7 separate regions of the Homo sapiens genome follow, and all the other regions are linked to region 2. The links are contacts of gene promoters, found by promoter capture Hi-C in blood cells and fetal thymus (Javierre and others, 2016). All regions are on one chromosome and are shown on one strand. The core of a region is centred on a gene start or on the middle of the fragment in contact, and the rest is flanking DNA. Distances in the headings are between cores, read along the strand shown.

Region 1 (3,375 bases), core at 876-3,375, 3.8 Mb after region 2:
CATTTTGGGAGATGGAGGTGGGAGGATCACTTGAGCCTAGGAGTTCAAGACAAGCTGGGGCAACATAGTGAGAAACCATCTCTTAAAGAAAAAAAAATCAGCCAGGCATGGTGTGTGCCATAGTCCCAGCTACTCAGGAGGATGAGGCAGGAGGATCCCTTGAGCACCGGAGGCTGAGGTTGCAGTGAGCCAAGATTGCACCACTGCACTCTAACCCGGGTGACACAGTAAGACCTTGTCTCAAAAAAATGTTATTTTGCAGTTTATTATTTAGGAGACCAAATCAAATTCATTACTTTTACAAAGAGCTTCTAAATATTTTCAATTGAGAGGATTAAGTGTGTATCAGGGAGAAGGGATAGTTTACCAGAGCATGATAGGGATAGTTTACCAGAGCATGATAAACCAAAATGAGGAGGTTTCCTCTTCTCATACAAGGACAATCAGTACTTTGAATTATCTATCTTTTAAAAAAGCAAAAGTCAGTTGGTACAAATAAAGAGAGGAATGGTTTTAAATTCAGAGTATAGAACCTCAACCGTAAAAACTGCCAACTCTAAGAACTTTTGTCCAAACCCAGACATCAACACTAGTAGACAAAAATTGATACTGTTAAGTAAAGTAAAAACAGCTACAATTTGGGAGGAATCCTAAAGGGGTTTAAGCAGCACATTTATAATCTTCGTCTGAATTTCTCGTGGATAGATTGGAGAGACTTGACCATGCATGTCTGGTGGGTAGGCATTTAGCAAATTTATTCAAGTCCCAAATCCTTTCGGAAGTGGCTATTCTTCTGCACGACACACTTTGGTAAATGCTCATCCATATCATAGAAAAATGATCAAGAATGAATCAAAGGCAATGCAGCCTCCTCAACTCTAGAAAAGGATTCTTCAAAATGAATCTGGCGTCCCTGAAGGGTGGAACACCCCTGGGATGATGGAAGAGGGAAGCACGCATGGAGTCAACCAACCCAAAACCTAAAGACACTGAGCTGGCGCAGCCCACAGTTACTCATCAACCCCTCTCCACATCTCAAGCGGGCATGTGCAATTAGTAAAATGCCCAAAAGACAGAAAGCACGGTGGGGGAATAAGAGATCAAGATAACCTTCAAAATGAAAAATTTACCTGGAAACGACTTAATGGTCACATATCCGAATAATCACAAATATTTCTATAAATGGTCAAATGCTAAAATATGTGTGTATGAAAACTGACCCCTTATGTGTCCCATACCACATCATAGGATGGCCGCAGACCAAAACGATCATGATCCCTTTTAAGCACAAAGAAATTAGCCCCAGATTTCATAGGAATTATATAACAACCACCCAGAATAGGTTTCTTTACTCCTTCATACATGCCTAACAACTATTTCTTTTTTAAAAAAGTAATACATTACCTAAACACTTGGAAAAATAACGTTAAACAAAATGTGACATATTTACACGATTTTAAGTGCAAACTTGTCACAAATTCACAAAGTCTTGCTTGACTTCGCCTTACTATATAAGGTGTTCCTCCTCTAAAATGTAACGGGTCTACTCTGTATTCCTGATTAAGTAACATCTGTCTCTTAAGACAACTGAAACCTACTTATTTCTGTGATTACAAAAGGATGAAAAAACACAACCGGTCAACCTGTCCCTTTCCCCTCCTTTGCAGTGTGTCTCTTTCCTAACAACTACTTCTGATTTTACTTCTTTTTATTCAGTTTTGGCTGCAAAAGAGTGAGCCACATGCAAAACCCAGCTTCCCATCAAGGCCCTGGTTCTTAGAGCAGGTTTCTGCCCCGCCGGGAGGCCTGGGACCCAGCACTGGTGGGCTGCAGCCAGAAGGGGGCAGCACTCGACAGCTCAGAAGGCTAGGCCCATTCCCTCTGGGACCTCCCCAGGCTCCAAGACACACTAAGGCAGGCAGACTGAGCCCCCACTCTGTGGGCCCTGGGGCCAGAGCAGTGAAGAAAGCAGAAGCAAATCCCTTCCCCATGGAGAGTCACAGGCTCTCACGGGGCCACAGACTTTACAGCTTCAGCCCAAGCCCCTGTTTTATAAATGAGACCTAGGCTGGTGAGAAGACCTTCCCTCCAATACCTGCTGGTCTATCCAGCAGGACTGCTGCTGGGGTCTCTGTCTTTCTCCGAAATCCCAGCCCAGCACACCCTTCTTTCCTCTGCAGCTTCTCTCCAGAAGCCCGTGTCTGTGCCCCTCCTCCCACCCCAGCACCCTCTCAGCCGCAGGACCTCCCTAATAATCCCTGCCAGTGTGAGGCAAAATCACCCCAAGACAAGGCCAGAAAACAGGATGGAGTGTTCTGTTTACAATGCAGCTGTCAATGTTATCTAGGAACCGAAAAACAACAAAACAGACCATTTTACAATATCGCAGGGTTTGGTACAAAAGAAATTTGCAAATGGGACCTACACAGTGTGTGGTAGCTACCTCAGTGCCTTCCTCTAGCTCAACAGCATTCACCTAGAGTGCTTTTTTCTAGTGGGATGTTCACAGAGCTGTCTGTCAATGCTTGAAGTGTATTAGAGCTGGGCACGGTGGCTCATGCCTGCAATCCCAGCACTTTGGGAGGCCAAGGCGGGCAGATCACTTGAGGCCAGAAATTCAAGACCAGCCTGGCCAACATGGGAGAAACCCTGTCTCTACTAAAAATACAAAAATTAGCCAGGCATGGTGGGGCGTGCCTGTAATCCTAGCTACTCACGAGGTTGAGGCAGGAGAATCACTTGACCCTGGGAGACAGAGGTTACAGTGAGCCGAAATCACAGCACTGCACTCCAGCCTAGGCAAAAGAGCAAGACTCTGTCTCCAAAACAAATAAATAAATAAATAAAGTGTATGAGGGTGGGAATGCCAGCAGATAAAGAGAAACTGTCACCTTGTGTGAGTTTCCATGTGCACAAGATGCGATGATGTTCTAAATATCTGGGAACACATTATTGTTTTGTTGGTAGAGATGGCAGAAATTACATCAGAATTAGGCAAACATGAAACAGGGAGTGCAATACTTAGAGCCAAGGGCATGTAGAGAAAGGAAGAGTCTGGAGTCTAGAGAGTTTTGACATTTGTCCCACAGGGGAGGACGGAGGCAGTGGGGCTGGGCAGGAGTGCTGCTCAACCGCCTATTGGCTCTTGGCTCCAGCAAACTACGCTACAACGCAAGGTCAGCCACAAAGAGCACCCGGAGAGGGGAGGAGCTGGTCACCACCAGCACTGCCCACCTGTTTTAAGCAGCCTGAGCTGTTCCAGTACCCTCAGAAGAGACCCTCGCCCTCTGCTCCCAAATCTTGCTGGCAGCTGGGCCACTGGGCTCTGCTCCTGGCAGACATCATCTCCAGCCCCGGGGTGCAGCTTCCTGCCGT
Region 2 (3,341 bases), core at 835-3,334:
TGTTCTGGATTGTGTAAAACAGTACTGTGTTTTAGCTGACTTGAGAAGGCTGTGTGTCTCACTTTGGCATTTCAGATTGCTTTATTTTTACATTCCTTGGTTGCAGAAGGCATTTGTTAGCAGTTCACATATTTTTGTGATCTTCAAAATTATAACCACAAAAATCTTCCCTTTAGTTATCAAGTATACCCAAGTGTGGCCCCTAAAATCAGGGAAGATAGGTTTCTCACTAGTAGTGACTTCCAAAAAACATCAAGTTGGCTAAGCTTCAAATTCATTTGGGATTAAAACGTTTTCAATTATTCTAATTATACTTAAGATAATTTATTAATTTTGAAAGGAAGTATGAGCGAAACCCTTAAAATGCAACCTACTAATTCTGAAACTTTCTGGAATTTCCAAGTCAGTAGGTTTAAATGAATTTGCGTCTTCCAAAATCCTGATTACCATAAAAAAGGGTATACATTAAGAATTATTTCTTATACTGTAGTCACAGAAAATAGTTGCTTGTATGTCAGATTTCCACAGAAATATAGTGAGATACCTAAAAACAGCTTTTTAAAGCTAGTAGTATTTCAATGTTGACTTTAATTGGAAGGAAACTATGAGATGAATAACTCCTGCTAAGAAACCTGTATATAGGTGGGATTTCCCATGATTCAGAGAGTGTGATGAACAATCTTACTCACAACATCCCCCCGCCTCAACCATTCTAATTTGAAACAGAAGATAAAGTTTTAAAGAAAAAGGCATTGACATATTAGTCAATGCCGACCAAAAGTAACGTAAAATTAGACTTGTAATAAAATTAGCAGTGTTTTCCTCTTTGAAACGTTCATAAATGACTATATTACAGAAATATTAGATATTGTAAAATTTCAGATTTGGCCTTTTATTTTGATTTACAAAGAAAGGAATATCTAGAAACTAGACTCAATAAAAAAAAGAGTAGCAAAACTTTAATCCACTATTTTTTATGTCATCACTAGTTTGACAATTGGATTTAAGCAAAGCATGATAAAATAAGTCAAAGACAGTAAATGACAATACTGTCAAGGTTTGAATGTCAAAAATTTTAACATTGGGGCATTAAAGACATCCTTTGGTAATGTGTGTTTTACAGTTGACTTGTACAATCACGAACCAGTGATATGTGCTTTGCAGTAGCTACTTACTAGATTTAAACCAATTTATAATTGCTGTATTTCTCGTAAATGTTATGAATCCTCACTTTTAACAATTATGTTTCTGAGAATTCCGGAATTTCCTGAACCACAATGTGAAGAAGGAGGTGCTCCTGATTGGGCTTCTTTTCTCAGCTTTGTGGTTGTTTATGAGGTTCTTTCCGAGCTATGCTATTTCTACTGGAGAACCCAGAGTTCTTACTAAATGCAGCTGGGCATGAGAGGGGAGGCTCAGGTACTGCAGCTGTGAAACCTCTGCTCGGGCATGCGTTTTGGTTTACACGCGGCCAGGTTAAGGAAACACATTGCCACGAAGTGTGCATTCACAAGAGTGTCGGGTGTAATGTATTTATTTCTGGGTCTCAAACGATCTTTGCAGCGAGTAATTCTGTTTCGATGTTAAAGTCACTGGATTTTACTTCTCTGGTTCCGGTTGGCCTGGAGCAGGCCCCTAATTACCTCGGAAACCCACCAAGGGCCGGTAAAGTAATAAACTGTGATCGCACAGCGTACACGTCGAGTCCCAGGGAGAGCAGGGCTCCCAGGAAGCCCCGGGAAGCGTGCGCTTCCAGGAGGGTGTGCGGCGCGCGGGGGTCTGCACGCGCGCAGAGCTTGTTAACGGAGGGCGTGCCGGAGGCGTGGCGCGAGGTGTTCGGGCGAGGCGCTCCGCGAGGCTGGCGGCGGTGGGCGGGCCACGGGGGAGCGCGGCCCGGGGAAGGCTGCGCGGCGCCGCCAGCGGCTCCCGGCTCCCGCTCTCCCGGCCGCCAAGAACGAGCCGCCGTGGGCGGGGCCTGCGGTGATTGGCGGGCGGGCGGGGAGGTCGGAAGTACTTTGTTTTTTATGCTAATGAGGGAGTGGGGCTTGTCCGTATTTACGTTGAGGCGGGAGCCGCCGCCCTTCATTCACCCACATGGTCCTTCGAGGTGCCGCCGCCGCCGCCCGACCTGCGCCTTCGCGCCACTTCGCGCCCTCGGGCGAGGCCGAGGGGGTGGGGACGACTACCGCAGCGCCGCCGGGGCTCGCGCTCCTCCGCGAAGCTCTCCTCGCGGGGCGGGCCGGCCGGCCGCACCCCCGGCCTGGGGCCTCCGGTCGTAGTAAAGCGCAGGCGGGCGGGGAGGCGGGAGCAGGAGCCCGCGGCCGGCCAGCCGAAGATGGTGGCGGCTACTCCTCCTGGTGAGTCTGCCCGCCCCTCCGGCGACGGAGGGAAACCTGTTGTGTGCGGCCCGGGTCTGGCGGGCGGGGCGGAGCGGCCCGGGGCGGACTGGCCCGGGGCAGCGTGGCGGCGGCGGCGTGGCCGGGGCGGGTCTCGGCCGTTGGCCGCCCCGGCGTGTGGCAGCCGCATCTGGCTGCCCCCTCGCTCGCCCGCGGGCCGGCGGAGGGGGGCAGGGCCGGGGCGGGAGGGTGGGAGGGGGCGGCGTGCGCGTGGCGGCCGCGCCCGGGACCCGCGCAGACCCTGCCTGGGCCGACCCGAAGGCGGGTGGGCGGACGGCGAACACAATGGCCCCTCGGGGAGAGGACGTGCGAGGCCCGTGCCTTCTCCGGGGCCCGGGGCGCGCGCGGGGCGTGGGGTCTCTGGGTAGGAAAGTTTCTCCCGAGGGCGAGAGTTAAAGCGCCTCCAGAACAAAGCGGCGGCGGCGGCGGCACATGGGGCAGGCCGCGGGCCGGGAGGGGGCGCGCCCACGAGGTACCTGCGCGCCAGCGGGCGGCGTGGCGTGGGCGGGAGCCCGCGGTTCCCCAAACTTTGTACGCGCGAGGGTGGGCGGAGGGGCGCCGAGATCGGCGCGGCCTGGGCGCCACCCCCGCTCCGCGTGGGCTTTGTTAGCCCGCGTGGGCAGCCTCGGGGCGGGGCCCGCAACTTCCCCGCCGTGGCCCTCGGAGGAGGCCGCAGTCGGCCTCAGCCGCGGCGTGGAGCCGCCTGCGCCCGGCCGCTTGCTGGGAGTGTGGCGCGGGAGGGCCAGCCCGGCTCGGCGGGAGCGGCGTCCCCGCCGCCATGTTCCTGCGGGGCGGGCTGCACGGGGGTGAGGGCGGGGGACATGGCGGCGACTGCGCGCCGCCGCCGATTGTTCCCGGCTTAGGCCTCGGGCCGCGTGCGACGGGCACCGCGGCCGCGGAGCCCCCGCCCCTCTGGGCCGGGCTCGGGGGGGCTGGGGGACACAA
Region 3 (3,335 bases), core at 739-3,238, 4.0 Mb after region 2:
GCCCAGGTGTGGTGGCGTACCCTTGTAGTCCCAGCTACTCGAGAGGCTGAGACAGGAGGATGGCTTTAGCCCAGGAGTTCCAGGCTACAAGGAGTTAAGAAGGTGCCCACTGGGCTGGGCACAATGGCTCACGCCTATAATCCTAGCACTCTGGGAGGCTGAGGCAGGTGAATCACCTGACGTCAGGAGTTCGAGACCAGCCTGGCCAACATGGTGAAACCCCATCTCTACTAAAAATACAAAAAATTATCTGGGTGTGGTGGTGGATGCCTGTAATCCCAGCTACTCAGGAACCTCAGGCAGAAGAATCACTTGAACCCAGGAGGCGGAGGTTGCAGTGAGCCGAGATCATCCCACTGCACTCCAGCTTGGCAACAAGAGTGAAACTCCGTCTCAAAAAAAAAAAGAAGGTGCCACTGCACTCCAGGCTGTACAAGCCCATAATCCCAGCACTTTGAGAGGTGGAGACAGGAGGATTGCTTTAGCCCGGGAGTTCTAGACCAGCCTGGGCAACATAGGGAGACCTCATCTCCACTAAAAATGTGAAAATTAGATGGGCATGGTGGAGTAAGTCTGTAGTCCCATGTAACCTGGAGGCTCAGGTGGGAGGATTGCTTGAGCCCAGGAGTTCTAGACCAGCCTGGGCAACAAAGGGAGACCTCATCTCTACTAAAAATGTAAAAATATGATGGGTGTGGTGGCGTGAGTCTGTAGTCCCAGCTGGAGGTTCAGGTGGGAGGATTGCTTAAGCCCAGGAGTTGGAGGCTACAGTAGGCTATGATCACACCACTGCCCTCCAGCCTGGGCTAAAGAGTGAGACTCTGTCTCAAAAAAAAAAAAAGTCAAGCACATAAGAATGGCAAAATATTGATAATTTTTGAAGCCAAATGATGTGTCATAGGGGTTTATTTTCTTACATTTCATGCATGTTTGAGAATGGTTTTCTTTTTGGAGATGGGCTCTCAGTATGTTGCCCAGGCTGGACTCAAGCTGCTGGGCCCAAGGGATCCTCCTGCCTCAACCCCTCCAAGTACCTGGGATTGTAGGCACTCGCCAGCATACCAGCTCATGTTTCAGAATTTCTGTCACAAAAAGGAACACAATATTTTAAGTTGACTACTGTGGGAAAGCTATGATCATTCAATAACCTACCTTTCTGATAGCTCTTTCTCAGATAATATAAGCTATAAACCAAAATAGTCAGCCTTCACCTGATTTACAGTGCCCTTTGAAACTTCCTAAGTTTTCTAGCCCAGTAAATGCTGAGCTACCAGTTCTACTTCCAAGCTAGAGAACCTGTTTACTAAAGTTAGAAGTCTAGTGACTTCCTCTGTCAGACTGTCCCAGAATGCTCTCCCTACCCCCAACAACTGTGTAAGAACCGTCATTAGCCATCTCCAAATTGCCAAAGTGCTCAGTCCCTTCGGCTCCTGCAGAGGCTTATTTTTTTCTTAATTAAGATCTTTTGGAACTTCTTAACATTCTTTTCTGAACATTAACAATGTGGTGTTTGGAAGAGATACTATAGAGCAGTGTCTGACTGCAGAGAGGAGTGGATATGGAACCAGGGGGCCAGGGCTTTATATCTTTTCACTTGTTACCTAACCTTTCTGACCCTTATTTTTCTCAGGTCTAAAATGGGGTCGGGGCGGGCGCAGGGGCTCATGCCTGTTATCCCAGCACTTTGGGAGGCGGAGGCAGACAGATCACCTGAGGTCAGGAGTTAGAAACCAGCCTCGCCAACATGGCAAAACCCCCTCTCTACTAAAAATACAAAAATGATCTGGGCGTGGTGGCATGTGCCTGTAATCCCAGCTACCTGCGAGACTGAGGCAGGAGAATTGCTTGAACCAGGGAGTCAGAGGTTGCAGTGAGCCGAGATCATGCCACTGCACTCCAGCCTGGCGACAGAGCGAGATTCTGTCTCAAAAAAAAAAAAAAAAAGATAAAAATTAGCCAGGCTTGGTGGCATGCGCCTGTAGTCCCACCTACTTGAGACGCTAAGGCAGGAGAATTACTTGAACCTGGGCTGCAGAGGTTGCAGTGAGCCATGAGCCAAGAGCTCGCTGCTGCACTCCAGCCTAGGTGACAGAGCTAGACTCCATCTCAAAAAAAAACAACAACAATAAAATGGGGTCAGGCAGGGCATGGTAGCTCACACCTATAATTTCAACATTTTGGGAGCCCAAGGCAGGAGCATCACTTGAAGCCAGGAGTTCGAGAGCAGCCTGGGCAATGTGATGAGATGCCGTCTCTACAAAAAATAAAAATAAAAAATAATAATAATAATAGTAATAATAATGTTTTTTAAATTAGCCAGGCATGGTGGCACACACCTGTAGTCCTAGCTACTCGGGAGGGTAAGATGGGAGGATCACTTGAGCCTAGGAGTTTGAGGCTGCAGTGAGCTCTGATTGCACGACTGCACTCCAACCTGGGAGACAGAGTGAGAGACCCTGTCTCTAAAAACATAAAAATACATGTAAAAACAAAATAGGGATCAGAATCCCCACTCTTCCTTCTTCACAGGATTATTGTGAGTCTCACAACTTGTGAATACACTCTGAAGGCAATATACAAATTAAAGGATGGGGGTTTTTTCCCATTCATTCAATAAATCGTTAGTGAACGCCTTCTGGATACATGACAGCTAGGCCAGGGAATGAGCCTGCAAAGACGAGGAAGATGTCTTCTTTTTTGTTTGTTTGTTTGTTTGTTTGTTTGTTTTTGAAACAGGGTCTAGCTCTCACCCAGGCTGGAGTGCAGTGGTGCAATCTTGGCTCACTACAACCTCCCGGGCTCAAGCCCATCCTCCCATCTCAGCATCCCAAGTAGCTGGAACTACAGGCACGCACCACCATGCCCAGCTAACTTTTGTATTTTTTTGGTAGAGAGGGGGTTTTGCTGTGTTGCCCAGGCTGGTCTCAAACTCCTGAGCTCAAGTGATCTGCCAGCCTCAGCCTCCTAAAGTGCTGGGATTACAGGTGAGAGCCACAGCACCCAGCCTAAAGATGTCTTAAGAATAGGCATGGGCAAGGACCTCATGTCTAAAACACCAAAAGCAATGGCAACAAAAGCCAAAATTGACAAACGGGATCTAATTAAACTAAAGAGCTTCTGCACAGCAAAAGAAACCACCATCAAAGTGAACAGGCAACCTACAAAATGGGAGAAAATTTTTGCAACCTACTCATCAGACAAAGGGCTAATATCCAGAATCTACAAGGAACTCAACAAATTTACAAGAAAAAAACAAACAACCCCATTAAAAAGTGGGCGAAGGATATGAACAGACACTTCTCAAAAGAAGACATTTATGCAGCCAAAAGACACAT
Region 4 (3,403 bases), core at 431-2,930, 3.3 Mb after region 2:
TATATACTTAGGCTCTGTAGAGGACATTATAATGTAAGTTTAATGCATTAAATAAATTGAAAAATGTATTAATGAAGGATGGGGTCAGTGCTTTATTCATCTTTCTATCCCTAGTATTTAATATAGTAGGTTTTGAGTGGAATAGGAGTATTGAATTTACATGAATGATTTGAGAGAGACCATATCACAGGTGGTGATATTTAGAAAGGAGGTAGTGCCAGGAAAGGGGATGATGAGAAATAATTGAATTAGAAGAATTGATTAAAATAAGGTTGAGATTCTACCAACTTAATGTTTTTGAGCCAGGACTTATGGAGAGTAGTGTCAATGTCAGGTTAAATTCTCACTTTTTATTTCTTTTTAAAAATTTCATTTTTATTATTTCATTGTAATTTTAATTTATTGTCATAGACAAATATGAATTGAGAACTGAGATAATATTACACTAGAGTTTATATGAACATTTATGAAGAATACATTAAATATAGCTCTGATCTTCAACAAGCCAGACAAGGCAGATCAGACAGGCAGTCAGAGACTATACAAATACATACGTATTTTATACAGATCACATATTAGCATATGTATATGAAAACAGGGAAGTTTGAATATGTAAAAATATGAACCATGGGCTGTGGTAGCTCTGTGGTAGCACTTCTGTATTGCAAAAGTGAAGTTCAGAAATGTTGGTTAAGAAATCAGGAACCTCCACCTCCTGGGTTCAAGTGATTCTCCTACCTCAGCCTCCCAAGTAGCTGAGATTACAGGTGCCCGCCACCACACCCAGCTAATTTTTTGTATTTTTAGTAGAGGTGGGGTTTCACCATGTTGGCCAGGCTGGTCTCGAACTCCTGACCTCAGGTGATCCACCCACCTTGGCCTCCCAAAGTGCTGGGATTACAGGCCTGAGCCACTGTGCCCGGCAGCAATAGAATTTTTTAAAAATCTCTTAACTGTGGTCTCACTTGATAAAAATTCATTTTGTCTAGCTTAGGGTATTAGAGTGATGAAAAGACTGTACTTTATTAATTAACAACCTCTATGGTCTGATAGGAATGTTTATATAACATTTAAAGGGATGTTTATTAAAGAGTTGAAAAAAATATTGTAATGAGGTATATTTTTTTTTCCTAAATGTAATATTGTTTTTCTTTTGCAGAGTGTTTTGCTACTTTGGGAACAGTTTGAAGATATCAGTCATCATAGCTACCATTCACACCACAACTTAGCAGGGATCCTCCTAATTGTTCTAAGAATTTGCCTAGCATTGTCATTAGGCTGTGGACTCTATCAGATCATCACAGTGGAGAGAAGTACACTCAAAAGGGAGTTCTACATCACATTTGCCAAAGTATGGGTTTGGAAAGAAAATCGTTTATTCTGATTATCCACTTGGTTCTGGTTTCTTTGGGAAGTTAATAAACAACTACATGCTAACTTTTATTAAACTTCTGGGTTGGGCACAGTGGCTCACTCCTATAATCCCAGTGCTTTGGAAGGCCAAGACAGACAGATTGCTTGAGCCCCCAAGTTGGAAACCAGCCTGGGCAACATAGACCCCATCTCTACAAAAAATTAAAATTAGCCACGCTTTGTGGCGAGCACCTGTTGTCTCAGCTACTCAAGAGGCTGAGATGGGAGGATTGCTTGAGCCTGTGCATTGAAGGCTTCAGTGAGCCAAGATTGGGCCACTGCACTCCAGCCTGGGTGACAGGGCGAGACCTTCTTTTTTTCAAAAAAAAAAAAAAAAAACTTCTGTTATGTGACAGACACTACCATAAGTTCTTTATGTGGTTCAACTCATTTAACCTTAGCAACTTATGTGATGTAGGTATTATCCCTATTTTACAAGACCTGTGAGACAGTATTTTCCATATATTCTTTGCGGGTCAGTTTTGCCTGGTTCATAGTTTCATCAATAGGGATTTTACATTTTTTTCTGTAATACCAGAATTTTAAATTTTTAAAATCAAATATGGTTTGGATTTCTCAACAGTTATTAATTGACTATAAACTGTTATTCTCAGAGTTATGCAGTGTTTTATAACAGTTAGGAGCTATCCTTCAGCATAAGCAGCTGGAGCCAGGAGGCTGAGTCCATGTGTTTCAGCCAGCCTCACCCCATCCACATGAGATCGTGTCACTTTATTCCTCCTTTCTTGACCTTCTTGTGCTAGTGAGATCTAAAAGCAAATTCAGTTTTTTTTCTATACAGGAGAAGGGTTAGAGCAGTAACATTATAGAACCTTCCCTCCCTAGAAGGTTTCATTTTTCTGTCAGATTGAGAGAATCCATACCCCTTCATTTTAGCCCTGCGAACCAGCATTCTGATCAGACTGATTCTGTTCAGGCAGCCCACCTTGTCCAGAGTTATTGGCCGTTATTCTGAGGCAGCTATGGAAGGAGAGCCAGATTCCTGCTTTATTCCTAGTGTTGAGCATTGCAAAGCTGCTGCTGCTGCAGCCCTAAGAACCAACTTCAGGCTTCTGAGCGCAAGACAAGAAGATGTCATCCTGCCTTTGAGTTTTTCAGAGGGACAGTAGTGCTTATTGTTTGATAAGTTAATATGTATTTGAGGTGTTTAGGCATTAAGTTTTCTTATTTTGCTTTTTTCGTTGTTGTTTTTGAGACGGTGTCTCGCTCTATCGCCCAGGCTGGAGTGCAGTGGCGTGATCTCGGCTCACTGCAAGCTCCGCCTTCCGGGTTCATGCCATTCTCCTGCCTCAGCCTCCCGAGTAACTCGCGCCCACGCCCGGCTAAGTTTTTGTATTTTTAGTAGAGACGGGGTTTCACCGTGTTAGCCAGGATGCTCTCGACCTCCTGACCTTGTGATATGCCCGCCTTGGCCTCCCAAAGTGCTGGGATTACAGGCGTGAGCCACCGCACCCAGCCTTTCTTTTTTAAGATGGAGTTTCGCTCTTGTCCAGGCTGTAGTGCAGTGGTGCGATTTCGGCTCACTGCAACTTCCATCTCCTGGGGTCAAGCGATTCTCCTGTTTCAGTCTCTGGCATGTGCTACCACACCTGGCTAATTTCTGCATTTTCAGTAGAGATGGGGTTTCTCCATGTTGGTCAGGCTGTTCTGGAACTCCCGACCTCAGGTGATCCGCCCGCCTCGGCCTCCCAAAATGTTGGGATTACAGGCATGAGCCACCGCGCCTAGCCTCTTGTTTTGCTTTATGCTTAAAGCAGTGCAAAATTTAAAGTATTTCATGTTTTAATTTAACTTTCTAAATAGGATCAAACATCTAAAAGTATTTAAGGAGTAGCAAAAAGTTATTCTCACCTCCTCACACAATTGCTATTAGTTCTTAATTTATCCTTCTGGAGTTTTAAGTATATATGCCTATATATATTTCCTTTCATTTTTATACAAATAGTAACATACTAAACATTTTTCTATA
Region 5 (3,109 bases), core at 387-2,886, 3.8 Mb after region 2:
CCGTCATCACACCACTGCACTCCAGCCTGGTTGACAGAGTAAGACCCTGTCTCAAAAAGAAAAAAAGGAGAAAAAAAAAAAAGAAAAAGAAAAGAAAAGCATTAATCTGTAACAAGGGCCAAGAACATAACTCATGCTCAATAAGTGTTAGCCCTGTCCTCCAGTCTTCCTCATATGCAGCCACTGCTTTTAGAAATTCAGGACTGAGAAGTCATAAGCAAGTATTTTAGAGACAGTGCCTGTGATCAGAACCACAACTCCAGACTGCAGATATGTAAACTATCACTTCATCCTTTACGTCCAAAAGGATTATTTTTTCCCCTTTCACATATCTTAGTTTGGCTTATTTCAAAACTAAGTTGTTCAATCTAGTATACCTCTTCAGGTTTAGTACTTATACCCCTCTTCAGGTTTAGTACTAAAGCTTTTAATGAAACTGTTTCCCTTTATATCAAGATTGGCTGCCATTAGTCCTTTTATATACATATCTAAAGGGAGATGTTAATGATCAAATCTGATGGGTGCTATGTCCAGTATCAGCCAACTCAAAGGTTTCAAAATGTTTTCTTCCTAACATCTTCCATTGTAGATGAGATAATAGAAATAATTACACTAACATTGTAATTGATGGCTTGAAATTTTTTCTAAATTATGCTTCTTAGGCAAATCTCAAAAAATACTTTCCAAATTATTAAGAGTAAAAATCTTCCAGTCATGCCATAAAACAAACAAATAATAAGTGATTGATGTAGCAATGAGCTATTTAACTCTAATCCTACATAAAGACTACATTAAGAGGCCAGCCACGGGGGCTCACGCCTATAATTCCAGCACTTTGGAAGGCTGAGGCAGACAGATCACTTGAGGTCGGGAGTTCAAGCAACACGGTGAAATCCCATCTCCACTAAAAATACAAAAATTAGCTGGATGTGGTCACCCATGCCTGTAATCCCAGCTACTCGGCTGGCTGAGGCACAAGAATTGCTGGAACCCAGGAGGCCTGCAGTGATCCAAGATCATGCCACTGCACTCCAGCCTGGGCAACAGAGCGAGACTCTGCCTCAAAAAGGAAAAAAAAAAAAAAAAGACAACATTAAGAGCTGACACATACAATGTTGGAGGTGACACAAGTGAGAAAGATATAGTCAGTTGGTGCAGTGGCTCACACCTATAATCCCAGCACTTTGGGAGGTTAAGGCAGGAGGATCTTTTGAACCCAGGAGTTAAAGGCCAGTCTGGGCAACATGGAGAGATCCCATCTCTACAAAAAAACACGAAACTTAGCCAGGAGTGGTGGTGTGCACTTGTAGTCCCAGCTACTCGGGAGGATCACTTGAGCCCAGGAGGTAGAAGTTGCAGTGGGCCGTGATCATGCCATTGCACTTCAGCCTGGGTGACAGGGCAAAACTCTGTCAAAAAAGGAAGGAAGGGATGGAGGGAGGGAGAGAGGGACAGATACAGTCACTACCTTCATTCATTCAGTTAAGATACATTTGCTGAGCACTGACGAAGTACCAGGGACTACTCTAAGTGATGAGGATACATCCACTGGTCAAGCAAACAGACAACACCCTGAGTCGTGTAGGGACACTCACTACACAAACACAGAAAACACACTATTGGATAGTAAAGTAAACCATGAAGAGACAGCCAGGCAAAGGTTGTACTTTAGAGGGAGTGGCCAGGAAAGTCCTCTCTGCAAGGAGGTGATGTATGAGCCATGAGACTATCTGGGGGAAGCATTCCTGGCAGATACAGCAGGTGCAATGGTCCCGGGGCACAAATGCGCTGTGCAAAGGCACCTTCATGCATTCGCAGTCTAGTGCGGGGGCTGGAGGGAAGAACACATAGGTGGATCAAGAGCAGCTCATTGAGGGCTGTGGGAAGACAGAGAAAGCGCCATGCCCTCCGAGGAGCAGAAGAGAAAGGCAGGAGGTAGGATCTGTGTCTTTCATTTTTCTCTTTTGCCCAGGCAAACTATCCCTGGTTGTCCAACGGCAGGAAAAATACCCTTACAGACAGGCAGACGTGAGAAATTCACACCTCCTTCCAGGCACCCCAAAGAAGTGTGCATGGCTGGAGGACTGGTCTTGCATGGCAAGGGTTGGAAAGGTGAATGGGGCAGACTGCAAAGGGCAATTTGCCATTCGAGGACTTAGAACTGTAGCTTAAAAGTAGGGGAGTCCTAGAGGACCTGAAAGAGGGAAGGTGAACTAGTGCTGTGCCTGAATGTTTGTGGCCCTCCCCAAATTCCTACTGAACCCTAATCACCAATGTAATGGTATTAGGAGGTGAGGCCTATTTCATGAGAATCTGCCAACACAAATGGTATTAGTAGAAGGGGCCAGCCCAGGGAAGCTGCCGTACCCCTTCCACAGTGACAAGACAGCTGTCTATGAACCAGAGCGTGAGCCCTCTCCAGGCACCAAAACTGCTGGCGCCTTGATCTTGAATCTTGTCCTCCAGAACTGTAGAAACAATTTTCTATTGTTTATATGGAGTACCTAGTTTATGCTATTTTGAATCAGCAGCCTGAATGGACTAAGACAAATAGGTAGGCAACAGTGTGGGAGATCTGATTAGGAGACTCAAAGAGGCAGGGGTCTGAGAATTTGAGGCTTTCTAGAACACAACCACATCTATAGCAGGCAACAAATTGGATTAGCATCCTTTAATCTAAGTGACCCTCACTTTTTGTATGTGATAAAATCCACTTAGTGTTTGCAACATATAGTTGTAAAACACAACTCTTAACAACTCTCGATATATATTCATGATTGAAGTAAAACTGTTAATGGCAAATAGAAGCGTAATTCATTCACTTTTAATACAAAACACTTCACATTTCTAAGCTTCAACACAACCGCCATCTTTCATAGCATATTGTTCAATCCAATTTTCTAACTCGTTGAGAACATTCTCCAGTTGCTGCTGAGTGATTTCCTAAATTGCATTCGTGCTCCCTGCCCTAAGTTTCCCCAAAGAATGTGATTCTGATTAGCAAACAACAATTTTAACAAGCTTGCTTCTAACAAGCATATATCCAAAGTCATTAATCCTTAAAGGTGCAAGAGGACTTTATAAATACCTCCTGTGTTCAAATGAAAAT
Region 6 (3,540 bases), core at 175-2,674, 4.3 Mb after region 2:
TGTGTTTTTCTGTGTACTTACTATTACCAGTGAGTTTTGTACCTTCAGATGATTTCTTTTGCTCATCAACATCATTTTCTTTCTGATTAAAGTACCCCCTTTAGCATTTCTTGTAGGACTGGTATGGTGTTCATGAAATCCCATGGATTTTATTTTCCCAGGAAAGTCTTTATTTCTCCTCATGGTTCAAGGATAGTTTCACTGGATATATTATTCTAAGGTCATTTTTTTTCCTTTAGCACTTTAAATGTGTCATGCCACTCTCTCCTTGCCTGTAAGGTTTCCACTGAGAAATCTGCTGCCAGACATATTAAAGCTCCATTGTATGTTATTTGTTTCTTTTCCCTTGCTGTTTTTAGGATCCTTTGTTTATCCTTGACCATTGGGAGTTTGACTGTTAAATGCCTTGAGGTAGTCTTTGGGTTAAATCTGCTTGGTGATCTATAATCTTTTTATACTTGAGTATTGATATTTTTGTCTAGGTTTGGGAGGTTTTGGGAAGTTCTCTGTTTTTATCCCTTTGAACAAACTTTCTACCCGCCCCCCACCACCATCTCTTTAGGGCCAATAACTCTTAGATTTTCCCCCTTGAAACTATTATCTAGATCCTGTAGGTGTGCTTCATTCTTTTTTATTCTTTTTTTCTTTTGTCTCTTCTGAGTGTATATTTTCAAACAGCCTGTCTTCAAGCTATTATTTTCTTCTGCTTGATCAATTCTGCTATTAAGAGACTCTGATGCCTTCAGTATGTTGATTGCATTTTTCAACTCCAGAATTTCTGCTTTTCACTTATTTCAATTTCGTTGTTAAATTTATGTGATAGGATTCTAAGTTCCTTCTCTCCATTATCTTGTATTTCTTTGAGTTTCCTCCAAACAGCTATTTTGAATTCTCTGTCTGAAAGGTAACATATCTCTGTCTCTCTGGGATTCGCCCCTGGTACCTTGTTTAGTTTGTTTGCTGAGGTCATGCTTTCCTGGATGACTTGGTGCTTGTGGATGTTTGTTGGTGTCTGGGCATTGAAGAGTTAGGTATTTATTGTAGTCTTCACAGTAGGGCTTGTTTGTAGTCATCCTTCTTGGGAAGGCATTCCAGGTATTCAAATGGGCTTGGATGTTGTGATCTAAGTTTTTGGTCACTGCAGCCATATCTGCATTAGTGGGCCCCTAAATGCAGTAATATTGTAGTTCTTTCATACACATAGAGGTACTGCTTTGGTGGTCTTGGATAATACCCGAAAGAATTATCTGGATTACTGGGCAGAGACTCTTGTTCTTTTTCCTTGTTTTTGCCCAAACAGAATCAGTCTGTCTCTCTCTCTCTATCTCTCTCTGTTGAGCTACCTTATCGGGGGAACCGCCCCCAATATTTCAATGTAGGTTCTTTCTATTTTCCCTAAGTGTCGGCCAGCTGAGAAATAGAGAAAGATTACAAAGAGAGGAATTTTACAGCTTGGCTGCTGGGGGTGACATCACATATTGGTAGGACCGTGATGCCCCGCTGGGCCTCAAACCGTCAAGTTTTTTATTAAGTGTTTTAAAAGGCGAGGGGGTGTAAGAACAGGGAGTAGATCACATGCTTCAAAGGGCAAAAAGGAGAACTACTGATAAGGGTCTATGTTCAGTGGTGCATGTATTGTCTTGATAAACATCTTAAATAACAGAAAACAGGGTTCGAGAGCAGAGAACCGGTCTTACCAGGCCTGGGTCTTTCCCCATCCTAGTAAGCCTCAGGGTACTGCAGGAGACCAGGGCGTATCTCAGTCCTTACCTCAACTGCATAGGACAGACATTCCCAGAGCGGCCGTTTATAGACCTTCCCCCAGGAATGCATTCCTTTCCCAGGGTATTAATATTAATATTCTTTGCTAGGAAAAGAATTTAGTGATATCTCTCCTACTTGCACGTCCATTTATAGGCTCTCTGCAAGAAGAAAAATATGGCTCTTTTTGCCCAACCCTGCAGGCAGTCAGCCCTTACTGTTGTCTTCCCTTGTTCCCTAAAAATCGTGGTTATTCTGTTCTTTTTCAAGGTGCACTGATTTCATATTGTTCAAACACACGTTTTACAATCAATTTGTACACAATTGTCACAATGGTCCTGAGGTGATGTACATCCTCAGTTTACGAAGATAACAGGATTAAGAGATTAAAGACAGGCATAAGAAATTATAAAAGTATTATTTGGGAACTGATAAATGTCCATGAAATCTTCACAATTTATATTCCTCTGCTGCAGCTCCAGCTGGTCCCTCCATTCGGGGTCCCTGACGTCCAGCAACACTACCTGTAGCCGGGGGAGGGGTGACACAAGTACCTCCGTGGCCACCATCACTGGGACTGTGGATGGTCAGACCTGAAGCCAGCACAGCTATGGGTTATGCCAAAGGCCCACTGTAACCACTACCTGCTACTACCTATGTTAGCTGAAGTTCCTAGGGCTCTACAATTAGCAGGCAGTGAAGCCAGCTAGCTTTCTGTCTTTCTCTTCAGGATGGCGAGTTCCTCAGAGCCCCGGGTGGGTTCAGAGATGCTGTTTAGGAGTCAGCAGCAGTAACTCCAGAACCTGGAGTCAGAAACCTTAGAAATCTACCCGGTGCTCTATTCTACTGAGGGTAAGCTAGCACTGAAACCATAAGACGAAGTCCTTTCTAGTCTTCCCTCCTCTTTCACCAGGCAGAGGAGTCTCTCCCCATGTCCATCAACATCACAAGACACTGGGAGTATTGCCATGATTCTGCTGATGTTCACTTAAGACCTAAGGGCTTTGTAGTCAGCTTGTGGTCAATGCTGCCATGCCTGGAATTCACCTTTCAGGGCAGTGGGCTCCCCTCTGGCCCAGGGCCAGAAATGCCATCCAAGAGCCAACTCTGGAATCAGGGACCCGAAGAGCCCACTTGGTTCACTTCCCCACTGTAGTTGAGCTGGCACCTCAGCTATAAGACAAAGTCTCCTTTATTCTTCCCTCTCCTTTTCTTAAACAGATGGAGTCTTTCCTCATAGCCACCCATAGCTGTGAATATGCTGGGTCACACCTGCAGCCAGTATACCTCAGAGTCTCACCCAAGGCCCACAGCATGTATTACCTGGTTACCGCTGCTGATTATTCAGGACCCAAGGGCCCTTTAATCAGCAGGTGATGAATCCTGCCAGGACTGGGTACTTCCCTTTAAGATAGTGGGTTCCCCTCTGGCCCAGGGTATGTCTAGGTATGTTGTCTGGGAGCTAGGGCCTGCAATGGGGGCCTCATGACCCTGCTCAATACTCTATCCTATTGTGGCTGAGCTGGTATCCAAGTTGCAAAACAAGTCTTTACTATTCCCTCTCCTTTCCTCAAGTGGAAGGTGGGGGTGGTGTTGTCCCTTTTGGAGCTGCTAGCTGTATTGCCTGAAGTTGGGGGAGAGGTGATACAAGCACGCCGCATTGGCCACCCTGCCTAGTGTCTCACTAGGTCACATAGCCCCCAAGTCCATTGGCTCTAAGCCCAGCACAGCAAGAGGACTTGCCTAGGAGTTGCAGTGCTTGTGGCCTAGGTTACCTTT
Region 7 (3,272 bases), core at 249-2,748, 4.3 Mb after region 2:
GACAATGGGAAAAAGGGCTCCAAGGCATCTCAGCGACCTTTAAGGCAGCTCCTTCTATCATAGGCCCAGAGACCTAGGAGGGAAGAACAGTTTCCTGGGCCAGGGCCCTGCCAGCCTCAGGACACTGCTGCCTGCATCCTAGTTACTCCAGCTCCAGCCATGGCTGAAAGGGGCCCAGATATAGCTCAGGCCTTCAGACGGTGCCAGCCCAAACCCTTGGAAGATTCCACATGCTGTTAAGCCTGCAGGTGCTGAAAGCCAAGAATTGAGGCTTGGGAGCCTCAGCCTAGATTTCAGATATATGGAAAAGCCTGGATGTTCAGGCAGAAGGTTGCTGCAGGGGCAGAGCCCTCATGGAAAAATCTCTACTAGGGCAGTGCAGAGGGGAAATGTGGGGTTGGAGCCCCCAACAGAGTCCCCACTGGGGCACTGCCTAGTGGAGCTGTGAGAAAGACCACCATCTTTCAGACCCCAGAATGGTAGATCCGCTGACAGCTTGCACCATGCACCTGGAAAAGCTGCAGCCACTCATTGCCAGCCCTTGACAGCAGCCGCGTGGGCTGAGCCCTGCAAAGTCACAGGAGTGGCACTGCCCAAGGCCTTGGGAGCTCACCCCTTGCTGCAATATGCCCTGGATGTGAGACATGGAGTCAAAGGAGATTATTTTGGAGCTTTAAGATTTAATAACTGCCCTGCTGGGTTTTAGCACGTGCATGGGGCCCGTAGCCTTTTTCTTTTGGCCGGTTTTACCCTTTTGGAATGGGACTATTTACCCAATGCCTATAATCCCATTGTATCTTGGAAGTAATTAACTTGTTTTTGATTTTATAGGCTTATAGGTGGAAGGGACTTGGCTTGTCCCAGATGAGACTTTGGACTTTTGAGTTAATGCTGGAATGAGTTAAGACTTTGGGGGCTGTTGAGAAGGGATGATTGTATTTTGTAATGTGAGAACATGATATTTTGGAGGAGCTGGGGCGGAATGATATGGTTTGGATCTGTGCCCCACCCAAATCTTATGTTGAATTGTAATCCCTAATGTTGGAGTTGGGGCTTGGTGGTAGGTTTTTTGTTTTTTTTTAGAAATCTCCATATTGTTTTCCATAGTGGTTGAACTAATTTACATTGCTGCCACCCATATATGTGTTACAATTTCTTCACCTCCATGCTAACATCTATTTTTTTTTAAGCTTTTTAGTAATAGCCACTCAGACTTGTGTAAGATGATTGATATTTCATTGTGGTTTTAATTTGCATTTCTCTGATGATTAGTGATGAACATTTTTTCATGTTTGTTGGCTGCTTGTATGTCTTCTTTTGAGAAATGTCTCTTAATGTCCTTTGCCCACTTTTTTTTTTTTTGAGACAGAGTCTTGCTCTGTCGCCCAGGCTGGAATGCAGTGGCACGATCTTGGCTCACTGCAAGCTCCGCCTCCCAGGTTCACGCCATTCTCCTGCCTCAGCCTCCTAAGCAGCTGGGACTACAGGTGCCTGCCACCATGCCCGGCTAATTTTTTGTATTTTTAGTAGAGACAGGGTTTCACTGTGCTAGCCAGAATGGTCTTGATCTCCCGACCTTGTGAGCCACCCGCCTTGGCCTCCCAAAGTGCTGGGATTACAGGCGTGAGCCAGTGCGCCTGGCCCTTTGCCCACTTTTTAATGGGGTTCTTTGTTTTCTTCTTGTTGAGTTGTTTGAGTGTCTTGTAGATTCTGGATATTAGTCCTTTGTCGGAGGCATAATTTGCAAATGTTTTCTCTCATTCTGTAGTTTGTCTCTTTGCCCTGTTGATTATCTTTTGATGTGCAGAAGCTTTTTAGTTAAGTCCCATTTGTTTATTTTTGGTTTTGTTGCATTTGTGTTTGGGGTCTTCGTCATAAGTTGTTTGCCTAGGCCAATGTCCAAAATGTTTAATCTATCTTGAGGTAGTTTTTGTATATGCTGGGAGACAGAGATCCAGTTTCTTCTGCATATGGCTAGCCAATTTTCCCAGCACCATTTATTGAATTAGGGTGTCCTTTCCCTGTTGTTTATATTTGTCAGCTTTGTCAAAGATCAATCTGTTGGATGTAAGTATGTGGTTTTATTTCTGGGGTTCTCTATTGTAGTCCATTGATCTGTGTGCGTATTTTTGTACCAGTACCATGCCATTTTAGTTACTATAGCCTTGTAGTATAATTTGAAGTCAAGTAATGTGATGCCTCTGGATTTGTTCTTTTTGGTTAGGATTACTTTGGCTATTCATGCCCTTTTTTGGTGCTGTATGGACTTTAGAATTGTTTTTCCTAGTTCTCTGAAAAATGACATTGGTGATTTGATAGGAATTGTGTTGAATCTACAGATTACTATGGGCAGTATGGTTATTTTAATGATAGTCTCCAAATCCATGAGCCTGGGATGTTTTTGTGTTTATTTATGACATATATGATTTGTTTCATAAGTGTTTTGTAGTTCTCATGGAGATCTTTCACCTCCTTGGTCAGTGTTTTCCTAGGTATTTTATTTTTTTGCATATGGCTTTTGTAAATGGGATTGAATTCTTGATTTGGTTTTTGGCTTGAATATTGTTGGTGTATAGAAATGCTACAGATTTTTATACCATGGTTTTGTATACTGAGACTTTACTCAAGTTGTTTATCGGTCTTGGAGTCCTTTAGTAGAATCTTTAGGGTTTTCTAGGTAAAAAAATCATATTTGTGAAGAGACATAATTTGACCTCCTCTTGTCCCTTTTGGATATCTTTTATTTCTTTTTCTTGCCTGATAACTTTAGCCAGGACTTCCAGTACTATGTTGAATTGGAATAGTAAGAGTGAACATCATTGTCCTGTTCCAATTCTTAGGGTGAATGCTTTCAGCTTTTCCCCATTCAGTATATTGGCTGTGGGTTTGTCATATGTGGCCTTTATTATGTTGAGGTATGTTTCCTGTATGCCTAGTTAATCTAGCTAGCAGTTTATCAATTTTGCTCATGGATTTGGAGAATATAATATCGTTAAAAAGACAACACTACCTAAAGCAATCCACATACCACCCAAAGCATACTGTCTTGGTTACTGTAGCCTTATAGTATAGTGTGAAGTTGGGTAATGTGATACCTCCAGCTTAGTTCTTTTTGCTAAGGATTGCTTTGGCTATTCAGGTTCTTTTTTGGTTTTATATGAATTTTAGAATATATATATTTTTAATTCTGTGAAAAATGACATTGGTAATTTGGTAGGAATAGTGTTGAATCTGTAGATTGCTTTGGGCAGTATGGCCATTTTAATGATATT

Evidence for each region. Contacts are between HindIII fragments. The CHiCAGO score rates a contact against its expected background, and 5 or more counts as called.
Region 1: a fragment that was not itself captured here is called in contact with the fragment with the promoter of MIR17HG in region 2 in 1 of 17 cell types (naive CD8 T cells); the score reaches 6.0 in naive CD8 T cells.
Region 3: a contact is called between a fragment that was not itself captured here and the fragment with the promoter of MIR17HG in region 2, in 4 of 17 cell types (naive CD4 T cells, activated CD4 T cells, naive CD8 T cells and 1 more). The highest score is 8.6, in naive CD4 T cells.
Region 4: a contact is called between a fragment that was not itself captured here and the fragment with the promoter of MIR17HG in region 2, in 7 of 17 cell types (naive B cells, naive CD4 T cells, non-activated CD4 T cells and 4 more). The highest score is 10.9, in naive B cells.
Region 5: a fragment that was not itself captured here is called in contact with the fragment with the promoter of MIR17HG in region 2 in 1 of 17 cell types (total CD4 T cells); the score reaches 7.1 in total CD4 T cells.
Region 6: a contact is called between a fragment that was not itself captured here and the fragment with the promoter of MIR17HG in region 2, in 4 of 17 cell types (naive CD8 T cells, non-activated CD4 T cells, fetal thymus and 1 more). The highest score is 11.0, in naive CD8 T cells.
Region 7: a fragment that was not itself captured here is called in contact with the fragment with the promoter of MIR17HG in region 2 in 1 of 17 cell types (naive CD8 T cells); the score reaches 5.9 in naive CD8 T cells.

What each region holds. Positions count from the first base shown.
Region 1 is chr13:95,190,097-95,193,471 of GRCh38, forward strand. The region is part of intron 9 of ABCC4 (ATP binding cassette subfamily C member 4 (PEL blood group)); the gene reads right to left. Among named protein-coding and RNA genes, the nearest start is that of SNORD13G, 19 kb to the right of the region's middle. RefSeq lists an enhancer at 3,337-3,375. The HindIII fragment of the contact is 6,767 bases long and covers 1-3,375 here.
Region 2 is chr13:91,345,603-91,348,943 of GRCh38, forward strand. MIR17HG (miR-17-92a-1 cluster host gene) reads left to right here and starts at 2,085. Exons shown (of 3, transcript NR_197388.1): 1 at 2,085-2,357. RefSeq lists enhancers at 1,574-1,653, 3,123-3,341 and silencers at 1,754-2,533, 2,584-3,341. The HindIII fragment of the contact is 6,871 bases long and covers 265-3,341 here.
Region 3 is chr13:95,303,307-95,306,641 of GRCh38, forward strand. The region is part of intron 2 of LOC102724149 (a long non-coding RNA gene); the gene reads left to right. Among named protein-coding and RNA genes, the nearest start is that of ABCC4, 3.5 kb to the left of the region's middle. The HindIII fragment of the contact is 4,555 bases long and covers 1-3,335 here.
Region 4 is chr13:94,621,950-94,625,352 of GRCh38, forward strand. GPR180 (G protein-coupled receptor 180) reads left to right here. Exons shown (of 9, transcript NM_180989.6): 7 at 1,160-1,351. Among named protein-coding and RNA genes, the nearest start is that of GPR180, 22 kb to the left of the region's middle. The HindIII fragment of the contact is 8,166 bases long and covers 1-3,403 here.
Region 5 is chr13:95,171,503-95,174,611 of GRCh38, forward strand. The region is part of intron 13 of ABCC4 (ATP binding cassette subfamily C member 4 (PEL blood group)); the gene reads right to left. Among named protein-coding and RNA genes, the nearest start is that of SNORD13G, 37 kb to the right of the region's middle. RefSeq lists an enhancer at 2,941-3,109. The HindIII fragment of the contact is 2,428 bases long and covers 423-2,850 here.
Region 6 is chr13:95,668,321-95,671,860 of GRCh38, forward strand. No RefSeq gene overlaps it. Among named protein-coding and RNA genes, the nearest start is that of DNAJC3-DT, 6.8 kb to the right of the region's middle. The HindIII fragment of the contact is 5,545 bases long and covers 1-3,540 here.
Region 7 is chr13:95,684,618-95,687,889 of GRCh38, forward strand. The region is part of intron 1 of DNAJC3 (DnaJ heat shock protein family (Hsp40) member C3); the gene reads left to right. Among named protein-coding and RNA genes, the nearest start is that of DNAJC3, 9.1 kb to the left of the region's middle. The HindIII fragment of the contact is 620 bases long and covers 1,189-1,808 here.